3 separate regions of the Homo sapiens genome follow, and all the other regions are linked to region 3. Evidence: promoter capture Hi-C in 16 types of primary human blood cells and fetal thymus (Javierre and others, 2016). All regions are on one chromosome and are shown on one strand. Each heading gives the region's core, a stretch centred on a gene start or on the middle of the fragment in contact. The rest is flanking DNA. Distances are from core to core; before and after follow the strand shown. Region 1 overlaps CD274 (CD274 molecule). Region 2 overlaps INCR1 (interferon stimulated noncoding RNA 1). Region 3 holds the start of INSL6 (insulin like 6).

Region 1 (2,700 bases), core at 3-2,502, 280 kb before region 3:
ACAGGATTTTGACTCTTCTTGGTATGGTCCTAAAGGAAGCTGCCGAATGAGAGAGAATGAAAATTTTCAATACATTCTTTTTTAAAATAAAATCTTTTGATACTTTTTTCATTGTGCAGGATTCAAAAGCATGCTGTATAAAAACATGCTGTATAAGCAATGAAAAAAGAACTAGGAACAAGGCTGCAAATATTCCAAGTAACTTTCTCCACTGGGATGTTAAACTGAACATTTTATTAAACACAAAATAAACAAGAAAATGGACATGCTGGTGTACCAAGTAACAAAATAAATAAGAATATTTTATTAAATTAATGCAGGTACAAAAAGTGACAATCAAATGCAGAATTAGGTATCATCTCTGCCTATGCCATTTACGATGAAACATGAGACAAAAGGGATAAAGTGCCTTACAAATCCAACACCACAAGGAGGAGTTAGGACTTAGGAATAGACTGAGTAGACTATGTGCCTTGCTCAGCCACAATTCTTGCCTGTAATTCACACAAAGAACACTGTCACACCAATTACTGTACAAATGCACATGTACAAACAGATAACACAAGGAGCTCTGTTGGAGACACTGTTTCTTCAGCCTTGACATGTGGCAAAGCCAAGGTACTCCTTGTCATTGACACCAGAATATGGCCAAGAGGGAAAGGAAACTCTGGGATCTCCCAGGGCATCTGAATCTCGAAACCTCCAGGAAGCCTCTTAGGAGGGCTGTGTAGTGATGACAGCTGGTGGCATTCAAGGGTTCAAGCACAACGAATGAGGCTTTTCTGGCACAGGGTAGCTAGCAGTCAAGGTACACTGCCGGAATTTCCAGAAAGAAAATGTGATTTTGCAAGTACAGCATCAAAGTGAAGTTTATACTTGACAGAAAGCAGAAAACAAAAGTTCCAGACATGATTCTGTCATACAGAGTTAATAATAAGATTGCTTTTTAGGACTAGATTGACTCAGTGCACCCTGGAGAGCCCATGGGTCTCCTTTTGAGCAAACATAAACAAATCCAAACTCTGTCCTAGAGCAAATACTTAACAAATGGTGGTTGTCTAAATGTATATGTAGGACATATTTAACATATACTGGATCATATGAAAGATAATGAAAAGCTATGGGAAAGATAACTTAGAAACAAAGAAGGCATGGATCCTCAGCCCTGGGAACTTCAAATTCATTCCATCTGCTATATAAGAAACACTAAAATAAATAAAAATAGCAAAGTACACAGCAGACATACAATGTGTTACTATTTAGGAAAAAAATTTTAAAAATACGTGCTTTTAACATACATTTCCAAATGTAGACTATCTTTAGAAGAACATATGAATGAAAGGCAGTAGCAGTTGCTTCTGGAAAGGAAACTTGAATGGCTTGGAGGATGAAGTGGAGATTTTCCAACCATCTCCCATGGGATCTTTTGAATTTTGAATCATGGAAAGGTATGAATTTAAAATTTAGTGGCATTTAAATAGAAAAGACAGAACTGTTAAACAATACCAGACACTATATAAACAAGCATTAGATTATATGGCAAAGGCAAATCAGGAATAAATATAATGCTAGAAAAGGAATTCCAGTGTTATTTTTCAGGGTTATTTTAAGTACCGACCTCTCTTTGTAAATGAAAATTACTCTGATTATTAAGATGTTTAAGTATATCCAACCGTCCCAGACCACATTGGCCTATTTCCTCCTCTTGGCAACACTGCTCGGGTTTTCCCCTCGCATCATCCTTATGCTATGACACTGGACTAAATTGTAATAATACATTTTCTTGTTAATCTCCTCATTATACTATGAGCTCCTTGAGGACAGGTACTTTGTCTTGCTCACATCTGTAGATTCAATGCCTGGCACAGCGATTGATATTGCAAGGGCACTTAATAAATGGTTTTTGAATAAAAGAATTGCTTAAAGTAAAATATAGCTGTAAATTGTATTATAAAAGGACAGTGGGTGGCAGTCTGAGGTCTGCTATTTACTGGTTTGGGCAAGTTACTTAATCTGTTTGCTTCCTCAGCTGTACGATGGGTAAAATAATAGTGGTTATCACAACAGGGTGGTTACAGCGATGAAATGAGATTATGTGTGTAGGCTACCACATAATTGTAAAGCTGATATTTAAATGGAACAGATACTGCACAGACACTTGAGGTCTGAGAATAAGATTAGGTCAACCAGAGTATTAATGGGTTAAATAAAGGTGACATCCTATGCAACCAACGGTTTGATCTTTATGCTTCCAATGTATACTTGTAGTTATAGAGGAGACCAAGCACCTTACAAATACTCCATGTTTTACTAGATGTGAGCAAATCATTAAGCAGCAAGTTTAGTTTGGCGACAAAATTGTAACATCTACTACAATATATCTTCAAAAGAAATCATTCACAACCACACTCACATGACAAGAAGACCTCACAGACTCAAAATAAATAGGAAAAACTCATACATAAATACTGTCCCGTTCCAACACTGAGACTCTCAGTCATGCAGAAAACAAATTGAGGCATTGAGTGGAGGCAAAGGGCACTTCTGCAGGAACTGACCCTCAAATTAGGGATTCTCAACCCGTCTTCCTAGGATGAGCAATGGATGATTTGCTTGGAGGCTCCTTGTTCAGAAGTATCCTTTCTCCCTGTCACAGGCGTCGATGAGCCCCTCAGGCATTTGAAAGTATCAAGGTCTCCC
Region 2 (2,700 bases), core at 125-2,624, 300 kb before region 3:
GAAACTTCCTAAGAGTGATCAAAAGTGGATTAAATAAAAGAGAGTTAAATAGAGCCCCACCTGGCCTGGGATTGAGAACTAGAAAGATATCTTTAGGGACAGAACAATTGGTGATTTTAGTTGGGGGATTTGTGATGTTATCCAGCAGAGACAAGCTTTGCATTAAAAGTAGGATGTATGTGGGCATCTTTGCTTTTCTTCTTTGTCGACTCTAGTTCCTGTACCTCGCTGTTTCTTCTGTCCTTTCTTCATAGGCTACAGCTGCTTTATATCTAATAAACATACACACTATTAATCTCTCCTGAGTGTGCACATTCTGTGTGTGTGTGTGTTGATGTATGGTACATATGTAATTTGTCTCCATCAATTATGAACTTCCTGAAAATGTTATTAATTCATCTGACTTAATAAACATTTTACTTCACGCAATGTGTATCCAAGGTCATGAAATTATGACCTCACTGCTCAAGAAAACAGGAAAACAGTTGCGCTGAATGAGGTACCTAAAGCTGCCAGGGGCCCAGGCAAGAGGCCTGAGTAATGATGTGATGTACTAAGAATGAAGAGACAAGGATATCCGGGAAACTGACCAAAGAGTAGGCAGAGTCAGCGAGCTATTGTGCAGTGGACAAGAAGGAGATTGGCACTGCTGTAAGGGCTGGTCTGGAGATGAGGCACAGTGCATTTCAATTATGGATACCACAGCGAGGATATTCATTCCCTATCCACACCCACACTGGGCAGTCAACATTCCTCTTCTAGCAAGAGATTTTAAAGATGATCATGGTACTTCAACTAGATACTAGCTCACTTACAAAACACATTTGCTGCATATTCTTTTCAATAGCTTCATGTGTTTGTGTATGTGTGTGTGCATGAACATGCGTGTATTTGTAGTTATTCATTTCCAGTAACATCTTGACATTCAAACCAGAGCATTCTCATAACTGTCCTGACTTTTGAGGAAGCAGCCTCCTGTCTCACTTCACCATCTCCACATTCACTCCTCGGTTCCCTAATAGCAACTCCTCTACCCTTCCTAGCCACCCAACTTGAGGCTTTCCTGACTCCGTTCACGAAATTTCCCATTGCTTCCCTTTCACATAGTTTAGGAAAAATATCAAAGAGATACTTCTTTCTGAGCTCCATGACCTACATTCATCAATATTTCTTAGTAACAATTTAGATTTTCTAGATCCACTTTCTCTAAAAGTCCCAACTGCCCTCACAACTTAATCTTTGAATCAACCTACCCAGAAATACCAACACTCTACAATAAAGACATTTCTTCTTTCCATGCAATATAATGAAATCAGTTTTGAAACCAAGAAAGAATCCATATTCTAGGATTCTAGGACTATCCAGGATGTTTAGAAAGGATTTAAGGCTGTTTACAAGGGCTGTTAGATACAGCATACAGCATACAGCATACAGCATACGGTATACATAACATACAGTAAAAAAGCTCAGGAAAGTGGCGCTAGAAAGGGAGGGAAATAAGAAGAGGTCAGAATCACTGTCGCCTCCTCTCCCCGGGCACAAGTCAGGAAGGCATGCTTACTGTCAGGATCTGCGGGCTTGACATGCTTGTATTACCATCACATTTCCCAGGCTTACGACACCCATCACCTGGCTGTCCTCCTGCTTCCATGTCCTTTTAGTTCTTCCTCCACACTGCAGCCCAAATGATCTCATAACACAAGCTGGATCAATCATTTCCCCCTACTTAAAACTTGCAACTGACCGGGCACGGTGGCTCACGCCTGTAATCCCAGCACTTTGGGAGGCCGAGGCGGGTGGATCACAAGGTCAAGAGATCGAAACCATCCTGGCCAGCATGGTGAAACCCCATCTCTACTAAAAATACAAAAATTAGCTGGGCGTGGTGGAGTGCACCTGGAGTGCCAGCCACTTGGGAGGCTGAGGCAGGAGAATCGCTTGAACTCGAGGGGCAGATGTTGCAGTGAGCCGAGATTGCACCACTACACTCCAGCCTGGTGACAGAGCGAGACTCTGTCTCAAAACAAAAACAAAAACAAACAAACAAAAACTTGCAACCACTTCCCACCGCATTTAGAACAGAATTTGGACTCTTCACCATGGCTGTCACGGGCCTGCGTGATGCACAGTCTCATCTTGTGCCCCTCCCTGCTCTGCTCTCCACTCTCTAGTCACCCTGGCCTCCTTTCTAGCCCTTGAACTCCTTAACTCAATCTCTCATCAAAGCTCCTGTGCACATTGTGCCTCCTGCTGGGGGTACGCCCTTTTGTATGGCTGGCTCGGTTTAAATTCAACCTTTTTGAAGAAGCCCCTGTCCCAGCCATCCCATTTAAAATTGGTTCCCAATTTGGCAATTATTTAGCTTGGTCCCTTATTGATTGGTATTGCTGCATTTATATAGTCATTTGTTTATTCGTTATATGTTTCCACACATCCACTTCCTTGACCCCTTATTAGAATGTGAATTCCATGAGGGCAAGAACCATGTCTGTCTTGTTCCCTCTTGAATCCTCAGTGTCTAGCTTGAAGTTTGACATGTAGTAAATGCTCAGTAAATTAGTTGAGTGAAAGAATAAAATTGATTCTAAGCTTTCTAAGCCAAGCTTGGACAGTTAAACAATTAATAATATTTCCAAGATTTGGGGAGCAGGGGCAAAGCTAAGCAACTTTTCACTCGGGGAAACACAACTATTTTGTGTT
Region 3 (2,700 bases), core at 149-2,648:
TTATATATCTACTATAGGTTTTGCCTTGTGGTTACCACAAGGCTTACATTCATCTCAGTATGATTAATATTTTCCGTTCTCAAAAACCTTACCTGATAAAGTTCTGACTAGGACTCATGGCCCACTATAGTTTGGACATAAGTTATTTTTTAAGGAAGGTGATTAAATTTTACTAATCTATATTATATCAACCATTTAAAAAATCCAATTGGCAGTTAATTTAACAGCATTCATGGATGCCACTGGGAAGCAGGGAAAAGATAGGGAAACGGAAAATTAAGAAAAAGACATAGAGTCAGAAGACAGAAAAGAAAGGGAGAAAAAAATAAAATTGTATAGGGAAATGGTGAGATCACTGATAAGCTTGCACCTGTGGCTTCAGCATCCTGAACCTTATTCCTGAGACAGCCACCGAATGCCCTCTTGTGGCCGATAGTACATCCTTCCACGCCAACACACTAGTAACACAGAACTTCATTTAAAATGATAAAGCTACCTATGCCGATTGCGCTTCGCTTCCCTGCCCCTTCCCTCCTAACTGAGCAAAATTATCTCACCTAAATGAGCATTTCATGCTGCATGCTGTTATTCTTACAAGGCAAATCCTCTAGGGGTCCCTGTCACAAGTTAATTTGGTAATACACAATCCTCTACATTATCTAACCGAAAGAACCAGATTTCCATCCCAGGTACCTCAAGACAGCGTCCCTACTTCTTTTTTCTGGAGATTGAGGCTAAGGCCCATGCCTCCCTGTGAACCAGTAGGATTTTTCTGAAGAAGCTTTGAACCTGACTAAACGCACATGGCCATATGCAACACTTAAACGTTTCACCACATATTTGATTGCCAGCTAAATGCCAGATCCCGGGGTACGATGGAAAGCAAGAACAGACGCAGGCCCTTGCCTTCATGAAGCGGGGGTCTCAGGAAAGAGGTTACACGCCCACAAATGGAAACAGGTCGATTAACACCGTGAAAGAGATGACAGGGGGTTTCTGTGAGGGAGACGAAGCTTTATTAACAACCTGGCAAACAAGAACGAGAAACGCATTCCAGGTGGAGGGAGCAACACTTTTTAACCTACGTTATCAGGTAACAGGGATCCTATGTTCTCACGCTTGGTGAGGAATCTCCCATTGAGGAAGGAAAGAAAAATGAATCAAACTAGGGGGTGGCGGGGTAGTGAGGGGATTTTTGGCTTTCATTTTAGGAGCCAGGGCCTGCTACCTTCGACCACCTGAGACCCCTGAGCTGGCGGGAAAGCCTTGACGCAGCCGGCGCGCGCCTTCCCTTGAAGTTCTGGCGACGCCCCCACGCGCTCGGAATTCCGCAGTGTTTGTGCGCGCCGCTCGGCCTGGCGCAGGCGCAGACAGGGAGCAGGGTCCGGCCGACCGCCATTGCACAACGCGGAGGACTAGCCTGGGGTCACAGGGATGCCGCGGCTCCTCCGCTTGTCCCTGCTGTGGCTTGGACTCCTGCTGGTTCGGTTTTCTCGTGAACTGAGCGACATCAGCAGTGCCAGGAAGCTGTGCGGCAGGTACTTGGTGAAAGAAATAGAAAAACTCTGCGGCCATGCCAACTGGAGCCAGTTCCGTTTCGAGGAGGAAACCCCTTTCTCACGGTTGATTGCACAGGCCTCGGAGAAGGTCGAAGCCTACAGCCCATACCAGTTCGAAAGCCCGCAAACCGCTTCCCCGGCCCGGGGAAGAGGCACAAACCCAGGTAAAAATCGAAACCGAAGGCATGTTTGTTCACCTCTGTATATTTCTTATTCCTGCATTTGCTCTGCCAGAAGGTGAGCTTCCCCAGGAAGTGGAATTTGTGCCTAGTACACAGCTCTTTAAAAAATTGTAAAAAACAGTGTATTGAAAATATACAAAACTTCAATGAAGCGCTTTTTTTTTTAACTTGGAGGAAATAAATGTACACTTGTAAGTCTACATATTTATGTAAGAATGTTGTTCTTTTCTGGAGTGCCAGTCATCTGGCAAACTCCTTTTTGTCCTTCAAAGCCCAACTTAAGTATCATTTTCCCTGTGAAGTCATCATTGACCTTTTCATGGCCAATGGCTCCATTGTCCTTTCTACCACAGTATCTAGCACATAGTTGTATTTGACTGTCGTCATTGGCTACAGAATCAGCCCAACCTTGTAGAAGATAAAAATGCAGAGTACCTTGTTCAAAAAAGCAGGAAAGGGCCATGAAAATAAAGGTAGTAAAATATAAAACTGTTTTCCTTACTTGTCCATATCCCCTGGTCACGTACCAGGAGATAGGCCTGGTCCGTTCTCCTATCAGGCTTCATTTAAGAGTTTACGTACTTGTATTTCATTCACTTAAAGTTTCAAAGGTAAATTTATTCAGAACAACAAAGGAACATTTAAACCAAATGCAAGGCCTGTGTGACTACATAGGTTTCAGTCCCATAAAGTCAGCCCTATATACCATACTGTATTATAGGGACTATTTCATGCATATTTTTGTCTGAAATGCTTAGCAGATGGCCTAGCACATCGCATGTGTTTAATATGCGCTGAATTTATACTTGATGCTTTCAAGCAGTCTGCAGGAAGGATATTCTTGTTCCAGATTCATTGGTATATCTTACTATGTTTTTACATTTTGTGACTAAGACATTTTAGTCCCAGTATGATTTGTCATTTTAAAAGAAATTGCACTTTGTTTATAGTGTATCCAT

What was found. Contacts are between HindIII fragments. The CHiCAGO score rates a contact against its expected background, and 5 or more counts as called.
Region 1: a contact is called between a fragment that was not itself captured here and the fragment with the promoter of INSL6 in region 3, in 1 of 17 cell types (activated CD4 T cells). The highest score is 5.6, in activated CD4 T cells.
Region 2: a contact is called between a fragment that was not itself captured here and the fragment with the promoter of INSL6 in region 3, in 1 of 17 cell types (naive CD8 T cells). The highest score is 5.3, in naive CD8 T cells.

The regions. Positions count from the first base shown.
Region 1 is chr9:5,468,067-5,470,766 of GRCh38, reverse strand. It overlaps CD274 (CD274 molecule), which reads right to left. Exons shown (of 7, transcript NM_014143.4): 7 at 213-2,700. All of the region lies in intron 2 of INCR1 (interferon stimulated noncoding RNA 1), which reads left to right. Among named protein-coding and RNA genes, the nearest start is that of CD274, 19 kb to the right of the region's middle. The HindIII fragment of the contact is 4,382 bases long and covers 1-2,700 here.
Region 2 is chr9:5,486,698-5,489,397 of GRCh38, reverse strand. All of the region lies in intron 2 of INCR1 (interferon stimulated noncoding RNA 1), which reads left to right. Among named protein-coding and RNA genes, the nearest start is that of PDCD1LG2, 22 kb to the left of the region's middle. The HindIII fragment of the contact is 2,434 bases long and covers 158-2,591 here.
Region 3 is chr9:5,184,337-5,187,036 of GRCh38, reverse strand. INSL6 (insulin like 6) reads left to right here and starts at 1,398. Exons shown (of 2, transcript NM_007179.3): 1 at 1,398-1,723. The coding sequence starts at 1,435. The HindIII fragment of the contact is 2,408 bases long and covers 1,016-2,700 here.